Regions from separate parts of the Homo sapiens genome. Here region 2 is linked to region 1. The links are contacts of gene promoters, found by promoter capture Hi-C in blood cells and fetal thymus (Javierre and others, 2016). All regions are on one chromosome and are shown on one strand. The core of a region is centred on a gene start or on the middle of the fragment in contact, and the rest is flanking DNA. Distances in the headings are between cores, read along the strand shown. Region 1 holds the start of FHIP1B (FHF complex subunit HOOK interacting protein 1B). Region 2 overlaps OLFML1 (olfactomedin like 1).

Region 1 (7,414 bases), core at 4,915-7,414:
GAAGAAAGTGACAAGTTATAAATAAATAAGATAGAGATAAATGGCATTAAAATCGGGTATACTCAGAAAAATAGGTAAGACACCTTCTCTGAAAAAGGAAAAAATGAGTAATAAATAAAGGATGGATGCTACTTCAGGCAAATCTGAACATGAAGAAAGACAGAAGCTAACATCCAATCCACCACCAACCCCACCCCACCTTCCCTCCCTCACTCACTAGAAGAATGGGGGTGAGAGAGAAGAAAATGGGTGAGAAGGTGGCAAAGCCACAGAAGCACTGCTAAGTCTTTCATACATGGTTTCTTAATAAATCATTAACGCAGCAACAAAGACTAGTAGCCATCAGCAGGGATGCACTGGACAAGTACTTATCCACCCAGCTATTTATGGTCCCAATTAGGCATGGACTGGAAAAGATAAAGTCAACGGTTGAGAAAAGTGGTAAGCACTCTCCCCTATGGCTAGCCCCTCTTACAGTTATTAGCCCTGGGATACTGTACCATCCCTTGTTGGTTTCCTTAAACCCTATCCATATCTTTGTAAATATGGTCCCTTTATTAAACTCTTCCCAAACCCAGCTTGAGCTATCTGCCACCTGCAAAGAGCCTCATTGAAAAAAGAGTATTAATGTTTATGGAACACTTTTCTCAATCGTATCTCATTTTAAAGACTGAAAACAAAGACAATCAAACAAGAATAATACAGAGTAGTAGGTAAAGTCTGAACTCTGGAGTCCCTCAATGGTTTGAATCCCAGTCCACCATTCCCCAGCTGTGTGACTTTAAATAAATCATTTCACATATCTGAGCCTCAGCTTCCTCATCTATAAATTCCTGATGAAATAAGTATTGCTAGTTTTAAAAATTAAGTCACATAACAACCTATGTAGCATTCCAACCATAAAGAAGGTACTCTGTAAATTACATGTCCCTTTCCTGCTTCCTTCTCCTGATCCTATTTGACCCAAGTGCCCATATCTCTGACTGAGAAAAGAGATATAACCTGCTCTGATGTGTCCATCCTTATCGCCTCCCATGCATACCTCAGTCAGCTGAAGAAAGGCCAAGCATTCAGTCTCAGTAAGGTCTTAACATGTCCAAAACTAAACTGCCTCCAGCTTCTGGAATTTAATTTCAAACATTAACTGCTCCTACCTTGCAGTATACCTGAGGTGCCCATTATTGCTCCACCACTTGACCAACAAAGGGTACTGCTCATGGAACCAAGGAAGATTAGCCTCCAGGACCCTTCCTCACCCACCTGCCCACCGCAGTTCTACAATCCCATTTCAAAGACCTCAAGAGAAGATGTTGGAATCAGCATCTCAGATTCCAAAAGCCAATACTTAAACTGGGCCCTGTTCACATACAACAAAAGCATAAAAGAAAGCTATAGTTTGGTATTCCTATCACCTAATTAGACTCTCTGCAATGTTCAGAACAAGACAAAGAAAAGGTTAAAATCACCACCCTCTCATGGTGTCCTTTCCTCCCATAGCAAAGTCCAAAAAAAAAAAAAAAAAGCAGAACCTGCCACTCTCCAGATTTACCTTCAGGCTCAGCCACAGAGTAAAAAGGGGAACGAGCTGATCTCTCAGACCCAAAATGGCCAAGATCAGGCACTCACCTTATAGCCCAAAATACAGCCTTACAGCCACACACAGCAAGGGTGACAACCAACCTCGGAACTGCAGATACAGGGCAGGAAGTGGCTCAGCCTCACTTATGAACCTTTGCCCTGGGAGAGGCAAAGAGGAGGGAGCTGGGGGAAGGGATATACCTGCAACACCTACATTGGACAGAGAGACCAAAATGATCTTCCAAGAACAGGTCAGTAAAATTCTGTGGTGTCTCTCTCCTTACAGTGGCTCTTCCTAGGCAAGAAGACTAATTACTGACATAAGGAGGATGAATGGGCTGTTACCCTAAATACTGGAAGTTGAATGACCTGATTAAAATCTCATAGAAATACAAAGGGAAAAACCAACCAACCAAAAACACCACCTACTAGGAATTTATACTAGAGCTCAGCTTACACATTTCTTCCCTGCTTTTCCATCCCTCAGACAAATGGGATGTCAGGGTATGGTCCCAACTCATTCCCTTCCCTCCCCGCAATATCACTTCTGCTTCTTGCAGGGATCTCCTCATCTGACTCCAGCGGGGTCCATCCAATTCACAAAAGTGAACCTCTATTCTACAGTGACTCCTCTTTACAGCAATGAATCCTCATGTCACACACAGTTATCTCTACCTTGACAGAGATGTCAAAAAGGAGGTGAAACTGAACTAGATCCTAAAGGATAAGGAAAGTTCACTGGGCAGAGAAGAAAAGGCATTCCTAGTAGAGGAAGCAGCTATTACAAAGATTTCAAGGCTCAAAAAAGCAGCATGGTTTTAGGGAACTGTGAACAATTTATTCAAACTAGAATACAGACTAGGGAGTGGCACACGAGACTGGAGAGGTAAGCTGAAGCTAAATGATGCCATATTAAGAAATTTGGATGTTGTCCTACAGGACACAAAGAGCCAAAAGTTTTTAAGCCAAGGAGTTCGGAGATCAGATGTGTATTTTCAGAAAAATCATTCTAGGGATGGACCAGAAAATAGCAAGTTTTAAGACAAAAAATTGTTTTAAAAAAATCATATGAGGTGAGGGGGAGCTAAACTAAAGCTTTGACAGTGAAGATGTAGCAATGGAGATATAGAGAAGAGAGATAACACAGAGCGAAATGTATTAAGATTCTAGCAAATGATTGAATGCAGGGAGTAAAAGAGCAGAAAGTATGAAAGATGACAATGTAGTCCTTGCCTGGAGTGAGATAGGGGATATGAGGGCAAAGTCGGGCTTTTGGGGCAAAGACTATGAATTCTGTTTTGGACATGTTAATTTTGAGATACTTGTGGAGATACACAGATCAATAAACATGTATACTTGGAATACAGGGAAAGATGACACTAGATACAAAGGAGTAATCAACTCATTATGATATATTTTCTTTTTTTTTTTTTTTTTTTTCTTGAGGTGGGGCCTCTGTCACCCAGGCTGAAGTGCAGTGGTGTGACCTCATCTCACTGCAACCTCTGCCTCCCAGGCTCAAGCAATCCTCCCACCTCAGCCTCCGGAGTAGCCAGGACCACAAGTATGTGCAACCACACCTGGCTAATTTTTGGTGGGTTTTTTTGGTGGTGGTTTTATTGTCGTTGTTGTTGTTGTTTTGGTAGAGGCAGGGTTTCAAAATGTTGCCCAGGTTGGTCTCAAACTCCTGAAGTCAAGCGATCTGCCTGCCTCAGCCTCCCAAAATGCTAGGCGTGAGCCACTACGCCCAGCCTATTATGATATATTTTCACATTTCACATTATCTCTCTAAATTGAAATTATGTTTTCATGTGTCTCTCTCTCCCTACTAGACTGAAAATCCCTTGAGAGCTCGGATGACCATGTTTTATTCATGTTGTTATCCCATAAAATGTGAGCATCACAAGCACAGACTATATGTTGAAGAAGTATTTGTTGAATGAATAAACGAATTCATTCTCCTAGCACTTAGTAGAGTGCCTGGCACAGAGCAGATATGGAATAAATGATTAACACAGTACCCTAAACATGTTTCTATCTCTACATCATCATCCTCATGTATGTTTCATCCTCTCAGAACTACCACTCACTATATGATACAAATCAAAATCCATTATACTTAATGCACTACTATTTCAACAGAGTTTGGGATAGCAAACAATAAGCTTACCAAATCCAGTGCTTTCTCCATTATAACAAGGATTTAGACAGTCCCTAAGAACCATCTAATATTTGATTTGATTCATCCTATCACTATCATGATATGATCCACTATCAAGATGTGATCCAGGTATTATATATACCTGTTCCAATGTCACTGCGACAGCATTAAACATAACCTTCATCCCTATGTCACTCTCACAGTCCCTTTTCTGTCTTTTGGAAATAGAACAATTACAAATCATTAAAAAATCCTCCCACATCACCTTCAGTGTCTATTATAAATCTTCTTTCCCAAAGTCTCTCTCACTCTGAGACAAAATTCTGGGTTCAGCCTTGCCACTGTATCCCTGTATGATCTCTGGCTACTGAATTTAATTTCTCATCTATAAAATGAAAGTTCCTGTCTTTGTCTACAAGGTATCTATATAAATCAGTATAATAAAATTTGAAATCCCTATGTAAAGCATGAATGCTGTTCAGATGTTAAGTTATACAGAATCATTGTATAAATGTATGCTTCCTCAACCTAATACAACAGCCACACCATCATCACTTTAAATTTCTGAAGTTCATAAAGCTATAGAAATAATTTTTAAAATTAAAAATTGGGTTGACACTTTTTATTTGGGTAAATTAGATCTTTTTTTTTTTAACCCACCATCTACTGTTACCATTACTGCATCAACGAAAGAGCACTGCAACACCAAAAGAATAGGAATGATAATCTCTGAGAATAAATTTATCTTCATGAATAACCATACTGTCTTTCTCTCCCTCCATCTTGGATAGATGATAATTTTATCATGTACAGGGTCCTTGGTCCAGTGTTTAGGAACCACTACTCTAAACTCTGAACTGTAAGTTCTGACTGACTGGGCAAGTTGCCAAGTGTTCTACCAATATGGAGGCCTGTCTGGACTCCAGAAAGAAGCAATGAGAATATACCACAGGATATAGGAGTTGGCTCTGAAGCTAAGACTCTGGAAAAGAATGGGGACTGAGGCTGTCTAATTCTCAGGAAATGGTCTCTCCCTGTCCACTGTAGAGTTAAGGAAAGACTTAACTCTTTCTGAGTCTGGAAAGAATAGGATGTCCCAACCCCATGGCTGACTAGCAGTAGAGAGGAAAATTTAGTAGTGTGAAAGTGGCCATTATCACTGAATGCCAAACCAACTTTCCAGAATTTCACGTGCATTTGGGTTGGTGGGGAGAAGAGGACCTAAAAGAATGCTAGTAAGATGAACCCAACTACAGGGTGTGGAGAGGAAGAGATAAATTTTCAGGTGGCTAAAATGTTCAGTATCTTGAGACTGATGATGATTTCACAGATGTGTACACATGTCAAAACTCATCAAACACACATTTTAAATATAATATAAACTAGCTTTTTAAAAAATTCAACTGTAAGAAAGGAGAGTAAGGCCATCCTGTTTGGGATCCTAAATATAGTACTGTATAGGGCAAACCATATGACCTCCATAAAAGTAGAATTAGCAACTGAATATGGTCAATCCAATCAAAGACCCACAGTTAAGCACAGGTAAGGAGCAACAGTGGAATAAGGTTGTCCAGAAGCAAGTAGAGAGAAAACACAAGCTGTCACAGCGCAAAACCCTTCATGAGAGGGCCCATCTTCAACTATGCAGTCCAGAGAAGGAACTCGAAGGAACTGAAGTTTCTGTGATTACTCTGTTGAAGTCTGAGCCTCAAATATGACTTTCATTACCATAGTACTATTGCCTATGACACCTTCATTTTCTCGTCCTCCAGAATATGGAAAGTCCATGGGAGCAGAGGAGTCAGGTGCACAACACTTCCATCTAAGCTGCCCTACTTTGTCTAAAACTATTGCTCTCACTGGACAGGGCAGTCCATCGAAGGAGGCCTCAGAACCAACCTCTCACCTTTATCCAAGTCTCACAAGCCCTAATTCCCTCCTCCCATGCCTCGCCTTCAACTCCCTCACCAATTTGCCGCCACCCCGCAGGCTCCCACCTGCGCCTTTTACTCTCTCTCTCCTCGCGCAGGCCTTACCCCTCACTCTAGTCCCAGGGTATCCTTCACACCAGCCCTCAGTAGCCCCAGCCCTAGTAAACCGCGTTCAGGAGTCCCTTCAACTTGGCACCTCCGAAAGCACCCAGCCTCTCACAGCCCCTCATTTGTCCACTCACCTGTAAGCTCTCACCCTCCTTCCCTATCTTAGACACTCACACCCGGACCCTCACCACCTGCCAACCCCTCACAACCAGTACAGTAACCAAACCCGTCACCGTCTTTTCCCAGTCTCTCATCCCCACAAACGACTCTCCAGGCCCTCTGGCCCATGCGTACCGTTCACTCACGGAACGCCGAACCTGGCCGGGCCCGGTTGCTGCTGCGGTGTTAGGTGAGTTCAGGCCGCCGCCATCGCTTCTCAAGCGCACCAGCCGCGCCCCGCCCCGCGCCACACGCAGCCCGCGCCCCCGCGCACCACACGCAACCGCCCGGCGTCGCACGACTGGGCAATGGCGTGCCAGCTCATTGGCTGAGCCGGACCAAACCCGAGCAAGGACGCTTGTTTCCTGGCAACGGCTAAACGCAAGGGCGGGGTCGCCGACGGCTATCCGAGGGAGGAGCACCGCCTCTCCTCTTGGTTCCGTCCCTTCGTACGTAAACCCCGCCCCTCAGAAGGACTCCGGCGTGTCATAGGCGAAGGCCTCTGGGAAGGTGGAGGCCGGCAGGGCGGAGGCGGAGCCCGGGAAGGAAAGGTGGAACCAGAGGGCAGAAGGCGGGACCTAAGGAGAGGCGATTTTTACAGGCAGGGAAAGATCAGAAGGGCGGGGCTTGGGAGAGATGGAGCCGGAAGAAAGACGAGCGAGAAAGGGGTGGGGCCATGGATTCCAGGAGACGCTTGGAGTGGAAGAGTGGGTGTGGAGGGGCGAGGCTATCACGAAAAGAGAGGAGGAATCAGTAGGTGGGCCGGGCCTGCGGAAAAGTGGAGCCCTAGAGAGGGCTGACTGCGGGCACTCTAGTTCATTTTGCTCCATCGTCGTGCATAGCTTGGTCTCTACTTTAGTACCCCAGCGGTGACTGCCCCTGGCTCCCCCAACACCGCTGTGCTGTGCTGCTCCGTCACCCCTTGAGCACTTAGTCAAGGAACACGGAATAAGTGCCTGCATGCCCAGCTGGATTCCGGATCAATTAGAACCGGCCTCTGCTCTCCAGGACCTCAGAGAATTGCAGCGTAGTGTAATAAGTACATTACTACGGGGGCCACCTAGGAGCAGCACTTAGCATGATTTGCATGTATAGAGGATGAGAGGAAGGTACGGTGAAGGAGCTTAGGGAAGACTTCCGGGAGGTGACGGTGTCTAAGCCGAGTCTTGGGAAACAAGCAAGAGTAAGATAAACTAAAATAGAAAAATAGAAGTTTCAGATAAGGCATGTAGTTTTAAAAGTACTTTACCGGCTGGGCGCGGTGGCTCACGCCTGTAATCCCAGCACTTTGAGAGGCCGAGGCGGGCGGATCACGAGGTCAAGAGTTCGAGACCAGCCTGACCAACATAGTGAAACCCCGTCCCTACTACAAATACAAAAATTAACTGGGCGTAGTGGCGCGCGCCTGTAATCCCAGCTGCTTGGGAGGCTGGGGCAGGAGAATCGCTTGAACCCGGGAGGCGGAGGTTGCAGTTAG
Region 2 (7,414 bases), core at 1,849-4,348, 1.3 Mb after region 1:
AAGAAAGAGCCCTGTGGCTTTGTTCTTAAAATAAAGTAAGCTAGGAAAAGAAAATGTCATTAAGAAAATCATAAGGAAAAGAAAATAGATATACGGTTCATTAAGTGGAAGTGGATCATCATAAAGGTCTTCATCCGCATCATCCTCTTCACAATGAGTAGGCTGAGAAGGAGGAAAAGAAGGGGTTGGCCTTGCTATCTCAGGGGTGGCAGAGGCAGAAGAGAATCCACATTTTAATAAGACCGGCACAGTTAAAGCTCATGTTCAAAGGTCAACTGTACTTTGCTTTATATATCTAGTTTGAAGCAATATCAAACATTAGCTTGTATTGGTCTAAACTCTACACTTCTTTACCTAATCTTAGAGTACTTTCCTGAAAGTGGTTTTGTTTGCTGTCTGGAATGCTTCTCCACTCCTCTGAATATTCAACTCCATTTATCCTTCAAGGACCAAATCAAATACAGATTCTTCCCTGCATCAAAGGACATTTCCTTTCCCTATTCTTCTTAAAATTCCACTTTACTCCCTATATTCTAGTTAGTCCTGTACCTAATAAGAAAGAACCATGCCCAATTTATGCTCATAACCCCAGCTCATAATACTTCGCTCATTATCTTGCTCCTTGTAGGTATCCAGTGTCTGCTAACTAAATGCATTCATACATTCATGAATAAATAAATAGAGCTCTTATAACGTTGCAGTCGTGTTAAGGGTCAGAATCCTTCACTAGAAGATAATCTCGAGGTTTAGGGTTGATATTATATTTTTTATCCTCAATACTTAGCACCATTCTGGAAACATTGTAACCTAAGTACACAGTACAATAAAATCTTGGTAAATGGAATTGAATTAGTGTCTTCACACCTAAGTCATTCTCACTGTGTCAATCCCAAGTGCTCTAGAGAGTGAACACGGTCTCTGAAACAGCAAATAGCTGTTAATATCCTGAAGTGAGTAAAATGCTGCCTCTTAGAACTGGATAGCAAGTCTCTTAACAGAGACTATTTATTTATTCTTTCATTCGTTGAGTCATACCATGAATTGCAATTGATCTATATCCAATAACTATTATAGACACTAAGGAGAAAACAATCTGTGAAAATAAGGAGGTGAAAGAATGGGCTTGGCTTCTTGCTGGGATTTAAATGCCCTTTTTCTTAAGGAAACAAAATGCATGCCTATGTTGCATTTTCGCTCTAGGATTTTCCAAGGGAAACCCTTCTTCTAAGGACGGTCATGTCACAGTAGAACTGAAAATATTCCCCATCAGTATTAGACCTGAAAGGAAACAAGATTTACCAAGCATGGGGAGCCTTCCAGAAAGCAGACAGCTCATGTTTATAAAGTAATCTCTCCTTTTTCTCCTGTTTGGCCAGGCTGTGACAACATGCTGATGGGCATAAAGTCTTTGAAAATAGTGAAGAAGATGATGGACACACATGGCTCTTGGATGAAAGATGCTGTCTATAACTCTCCAAAGGTGTACTTATTAATTGGATCCAGAAACAACACTGTTTGGGAATTTGCAAACATACGGGCATTCATGGAGGATAACACCAAGCCAGCTCCCCGGAAGCAAATCCTAACACTTTCCTGGCAGGGAACAGGCCAAGTGATCTACAAAGGTTTTCTATTTTTTCATAACCAAGCAACTTCTAATGAGATAATCAAATATAACCTGCAGAAGAGGACTGTGGAAGATCGAATGCTGCTCCCAGGAGGGGTAGGCCGAGCATTGGTTTACCAGCACTCCCCCTCAACTTACATTGACCTGGCTGTGGATGAGCATGGGCTCTGGGCCATCCACTCTGGGCCAGGCACCCATAGCCATTTGGTTCTCACAAAGATTGAGCCGGGCACACTGGGAGTGGAGCATTCATGGGATACCCCATGCAGAAGCCAGGATGCTGAAGCCTCATTCCTCTTGTGTGGGGTTCTCTATGTGGTCTACAGTACTGGGGGCCAGGGCCCTCATCGCATCACCTGCATCTATGATCCACTGGGCACTATCAGTGAGGAGGACTTGCCCAACTTGTTCTTCCCCAAGAGACCAAGAAGTCACTCCATGATCCATTACAACCCCAGAGATAAGCAGCTCTATGCCTGGAATGAAGGAAACCAGATCATTTACAAACTCCAGACAAAGAGAAAGCTGCCTCTGAAGTAATGCATTACAGCTGTGAGAAAGAGCACTGTGGCTTTGGCAGCTGTTCTACAGGACAGTGAGGCTATAGCCCCTTCACAATATAGTATCCCTCTAATCACACACAGGAAGAGTGTGTAGAAGTGGAAATACGTATGCCTCCTTTCCCAAATGTCACTGCCTTAGGTATCTTCCAAGAGCTTAGATGAGAGCATATCATCAGGAAAGTTTCAACAATGTCCATTACTCCCCCAAACCTCCTGGCTCTCAAGGATGACCACATTCTGATACAGCCTACTTCAAGCCTTTTGTTTTACTGCTCCCCAGCATTTACTGTAACTCTGCCATCTTCCCTCCCACAATTAGAGTTGTATGCCAGCCCCTAATATTCACCACTGGCTTTTCTCTCCCCTGGCCTTTGCTGAAGCTCTTCCCTCTTTTTCAAATGTCTATTGATATTCTCCCATTTTCACTGCCCAACTAAAATACTATTAATATTTCTTTCTTTTCTTTTCTTTTTTTTGAGACAAGGTCTCACTATGTTGCCCAGGCTGGTCTCAAACTCCAGAGCTCAAGAGATCCTCCTGCCTCAGCCTCCTAAGTACCTGGGATTACAGGCATGTGCCACCACACCTGGCTTAAAATACTATTTCTTATTGAGGTTTAACCTCTATTTCCCCTAGCCCTGTCCTTCCACTAAGCTTGGTAGATGTAATAATAAAGTGAAAATATTAACATTTGAATATCGCTTTCCAGGTGTGGAGTGTTTGCACATCATTTAATTCTCGTTTCACCTTTGTGAAACATGCACAAGTCTTTACAGCTGTCATTCTAGAGTTTAGGTGAGTAACACAATTACAAAGTGAAAGATACAGCTAGAAAATACTACAAATCCCATAGTTTTTCCATTGCCCAAGGAAGCATCAAATACGTATGTTTGTTCACCTACTCTTATAGTCAATGCGTTCATCGTTTCAGCCTAAAAATAATAGTCTGTCCCTTTAGCCAGTTTTCATGTCTGCACAAGACCTTTCAATAGGCCTTTCAAATGATAATTCCTCCAGAAAACCAGTCTAAGGGTGAGGACCCCAACTCTAGCCTCCTCTTGTCTTGCTGTCCTCTGTTTCTCTCTTTCTGCTTTAAATTCAATAAAAGTGACACTGAGCAAATAACCTCATCAGGTTATATTTGCCCACATACCCTAAGCACAAAAGCTTTCTGGGAGTGCTGCTTGTGTTAGGTTTACTGTGAATGATTCCCAACACACTGAGGCCCTGGTAAATATTCTGGAATCTGGACAGAAGCCATACAGCAGGCAAGCGACTCTGCCACAGCAGGCATGCCCTGTGGCACCGAGGGCAGCATGCCTCTTGACAGGGGCTTCCTCAGTGTTTCCCACGTGTTTGTCCAATTCAGCTAAGTTCGAGTCACAAGTGCAGGCTGTGGTGCCAGTCTGTGTCACGTGCTGAAGCCTCTGTCTTTCCAGGTTGGTCACATGAGAAGGTTTGCTTTGTGTGCTTGCAGCTGTTTTCCTGTCTTTGCCAAGCCCAGGCTGGGACCATAGGCAGTGAAGAGAAAATGTTTTTTTCCATAGCATTTGAGTAGATATTTGGCAGAAGGGAATTACTCAACCCATGGATACAGTGTAATTACCCACAGTTCTAACAGAATGGTACAGAGAGGCCAAATCCTTTGTGGAATGAGACAGGTATGAATAAATAAATGTGATATTACCTGCCCTATTACCTACCTATTTCACAGATAGAAGGAATGTGGGCTGCCTCACAGAGGATAGTGGGGTAGATTTATCAATAGGAGTGAGTCCTGCAACCATAGTTCCTTTGGAGGCACAGAGGGGAGGTTGCCTGAAATGTGCTGTCTAGATTCCACCTGGGATATGATTTGATTGACAGCTCTGCAGGGCACATCTGCCCCAAACAACTCACCTTGGTACCTACCTTAAATCCCTGCAGCTCGAATCACTCTTTTAGGTCAAGACATTTTCTCCAGGAAGCCCCTGTTAAGGGACCACTTTGCTTCTTGTGAGCCAGCGCAGGTCAGTATGCAGGCCTGGGAATGGGGTTTCTTTCAGGTGAACGTTTTAGCTCTGGGGTCTTGTTGGATTTAAGTGAAGACTGACATCGACATGGCCTACATCAGTGGTTCTTAAACTTTGTTGCACATAAGAATCACCTGCGGAGTTTTAACAGTCCTCATGCCGTGGCCATATCCCCAAGACCATTAAATCAGAACCTCTGGGGATGGATCGAGATATCAGTATTTTTAAAGTTCCTTCCCGCAAGTTGGTTCCAAAGTGCAAAGAAGCTCCAGAGCCGGTGACTTAGAACATTTAAAAAGGTAACTGTATCAATTTAAGAACAGGCTAGCAGTTTCTGGGGGCGGAGGTAAGGGGAGTGGCTCCGCTAGGGCAATAAAGGGTGGGATTCGGAAACAGCCATGACCTTGTGTGAACTGTGGCAGCCTGCGTCTACAAAAGTCGCTCTGCTGCTATTTTAAGGAAGTGAAAGAGAACTGAAGGGTGTCCTGTTGTAACACAACTCTTGCGGGCCCCAGCCTTCCCCTGCTGGCTGTGCTTTGGTCTGCTGCTGGCCAGGTTCCCGCAGTGACCACACGTCTCATATTTGCCAGGGTGGGTTAGGTTCTGTTCACATGTAAAATTCTCCTGGGCCTACTGGTCATTTCAGACCGCGAGGGTAAATTTGGTTTGAAAAAGTTGTGTCCTGTGGAGTTTGTCGACACTCCAGCCTGTAGAGAACTAAAGGCTAGGGCTGTGGTGACTCCTGCCAGAGCTGGGGACTATGCCGAGTCCCTGGTGTCGCTGCCATCTGAGGCCTACAGGGATTTTAAACAGCTTAACAGCAGCCAGTCCTTGGAGGCCTGGGCAGGGCCACAACATAGCAGTACAACCAAAACGGGTTCAGGCCACACGCTGGAGGTAGGGGCTGGACCAGATCTCCAGCTTCAGTCCTCCCCAGTTCGAGAACCCATTCCTGTGGTCAGACATTGCCAACGCTTTTCTTGGACCTAAGGTCCCAGACCTTGGCGCTGGGCACAGGGAAATGCTTCCTGACCTCGGCTCTTCATAAGACAGAACTTTTGTTTGGTGCCAACCACTAGAGGGACCTCCACCCCAGGTTGCGAGTGCAGCGCGGCGGGACCTGGGATGATTCGGGGGCTTTCCGACCTGCTTAGGGAGGGCGGCTCAGAGACAACCTCAATTTTGCCTGGATTGCACGCGGGCCGAGGAAGTCGGGATGCTCCGAAGGGTTTCTGCTCTGGGAGTGCCTCTAATGTGGGTTTTCTATGCTTTCTCTCTTCGCAATTCTCGACACCGTTTCCTTCTTCCTCGCTTTCATTCCCTGTGACCGGAGAACGGCGCTGAAGGACTGGAGAAGCCCAGGAGACTGGGAGCCGGAGCGCCGGGTACCCACCCGGGCCTCCCCGCAACCGGAGCTGTGCGGAGGAGGAGGCGCGGCGAACGGGGCGGGGCTCCCGGAAGGGGGCGCGGTCCGCCGAGAGAGGCGGGGCTGGGGCCCGGACGCGCGGCCCAGGGGGTGGGGACGAGGCAGGTTCGAAGGGGCGGGGCTGACCAGGCCGGTCCCCCGGGAACAGGAACCCTGGTGGACGGGTCCCAGCAGGCTTCTTCGGTGCCCGAGAGGGAGCGGGTGCCCAAGGGGGTGGTCCCTGTGGCAGGTCCCGGGGTGGGGGCGCGGCGCTCCGGGAAGAGCCTTCCGCAGGTCCCCGCCCCGTCACGTGGGCGCCGGCCCCGGCCGCTGCGGTCGGTCCGCTGGTTGGTCGGGCGCTTGGTCCGGCAGTTGGTCGGTGGGCCAGTGGCCCGTCGCTCGCTTCTGGGCTCTCATGTTTGAAGGTGGGAGGGACACGGGAGCGGCCCGCACACCTGAGCCGCCCGGAGAGGAGCCTCGGCCCCGTACCCAGGTCAGTGGGCTCTCCCCACACCCCGGGCTTGCCGCGCGGTCGGGGTTGGGATCCCCGTCGGGAGCATTACCTAGGGAGTGGAGCGCCCCCAGAGCTACGAACCACGGGGACGTGTGGGTCAGTGTCTCTGTGAGCCCCGGAGCGTGTCCCAGGCTCGAGGACGGGGACCCTTCTCCAACTCCACTGGCCAGAAGCCTGGGAGGAGGGCAGAACTCCTGTGGGTTGGCTGCGAATCTCCACCCAACCCTGCCTGGGATCCGCGGACAGTCCGCACTCCTGCAGGTGCCAGCGTGGCCCTGGAGATGCGCAGGGAGGTGGGGTCCCTGAGTTCTGTGCGGCGCGTCCCAGCCCTGCTCAGCCCGGGGAGCAGCGGCGTGGACTAGGGAGCCTAAGGAGGTTGCGGAAGCTTTAGGTCTGTCAGCCCAGGCAATTCTCTGGTGGACACAGCGTGTGTCTAGATGCAGGGCCTCGGCTAAAGCCAGTTCTGTAGTGTAAGTGCAAAAATACAGCACACTTTTTAAAATCTAAAGCCGCCGCGTCCCAGTAGACTGCAGGATGGGGACGGTCCTATTTAAAAGTGGGCTCCCTCCTCACCTCATCACATCAGATTCCAGACCCGCAGTTTTTCCTCGGATGAAAATAAGATTATGTAACAAGAGAACAGAACTTCCAGCGTTTGGATAGGATTAAGACAGGCATTCTTGCCAGTGTTTAATCTTCTTAAAAAACGAATCTAATTATATTTTTACTTTTAGAGCAGCCAGATATTTGGTATAGATCCGTGTCCCTTTTCTATATTTTGGTCTACTTCCTGTCTTTCTCTTCGTCTCTCTCCTTTCTCAACCCCTCCTTAATTGATTGTAATACAAATCTGAAGTGTTTTCAAATTTGTAGTGTATTATGTGAAGTTAAATGGTCAACTACAGAAAAGTAGTTGGTTTTCGACATAATTCATCTTCAGCATATTCAGTCTTTCATTATTATAGGTGTATGGAAAGCTGTAAGTGTTATCTAATTTAGAAATTATTTCTCTTTGGCTTAAGAGAGGCAACCCATTTGTACTTTGCTTAAATTCATAGCTAAATAAATTTGAAGTGGGAGATGGGGATGATTGATGAGGTTTTCACTGATTGCATTTATCCATGTTTTATTTAACATATTTCAATTATTAGTAATACTATTTTAAGATTTGGTGATGTGACAGTTGTTAGCTTATTGCTACTGGAGAGATAAGCTGCTTACCATGATGCCTTCTTTACTGGGTAGCTAAGGGAGATGCGCTTTGACTTTAAAAGAGTAAGTGGAATGAGATCA

Evidence for each region. The method cuts DNA at HindIII sites, captures the fragments that hold promoters and counts their contacts. A CHiCAGO score of 5 or more calls a contact.
Region 2: a contact is called between a fragment that was not itself captured here and the fragment with the promoter of FHIP1B in region 1, in 1 of 17 cell types (total CD8 T cells). The highest score is 8.1, in total CD8 T cells.

What each region holds. Positions count from the first base shown.
Region 1 is chr11:6,228,472-6,235,885 of GRCh38, forward strand. FHIP1B (FHF complex subunit HOOK interacting protein 1B) reads right to left here and starts at 6,165. Exons shown (of 12, transcript NM_001098794.2): 1 at 6,073-6,165. It also overlaps a transcript of CNGA4 not described here. RefSeq lists silencers at 5,840-5,889, 6,070-6,369 and enhancers at 6,412-7,102, 6,500-6,579. The HindIII fragment of the contact is 4,704 bases long and covers 3,742-7,414 here.
Region 2 is chr11:7,508,022-7,515,435 of GRCh38, forward strand. It overlaps OLFML1 (olfactomedin like 1), which reads left to right. Exons shown (of 3, transcript NM_198474.4): 3 at 1,377-3,356. The coding sequence ends at 2,167. It overlaps LOC124902806 (leucine-rich repeat extensin-like protein 5), which reads right to left. Exons shown (of 4, transcript XM_047428005.1): 2 at 6,097-6,584; 3 at 4,102-6,019; 4 at 1-162. The coding sequence ends at 5,189. PPFIBP2 (PPFIB scaffold protein 2) reads left to right here and starts at 5,978. Exons shown (of 24, transcript NM_003621.5): 1 at 5,978-6,100. RefSeq lists an enhancer at 4,754-4,873 and a silencer at 5,544-6,073. The HindIII fragment of the contact is 513 bases long and covers 2,843-3,355 here.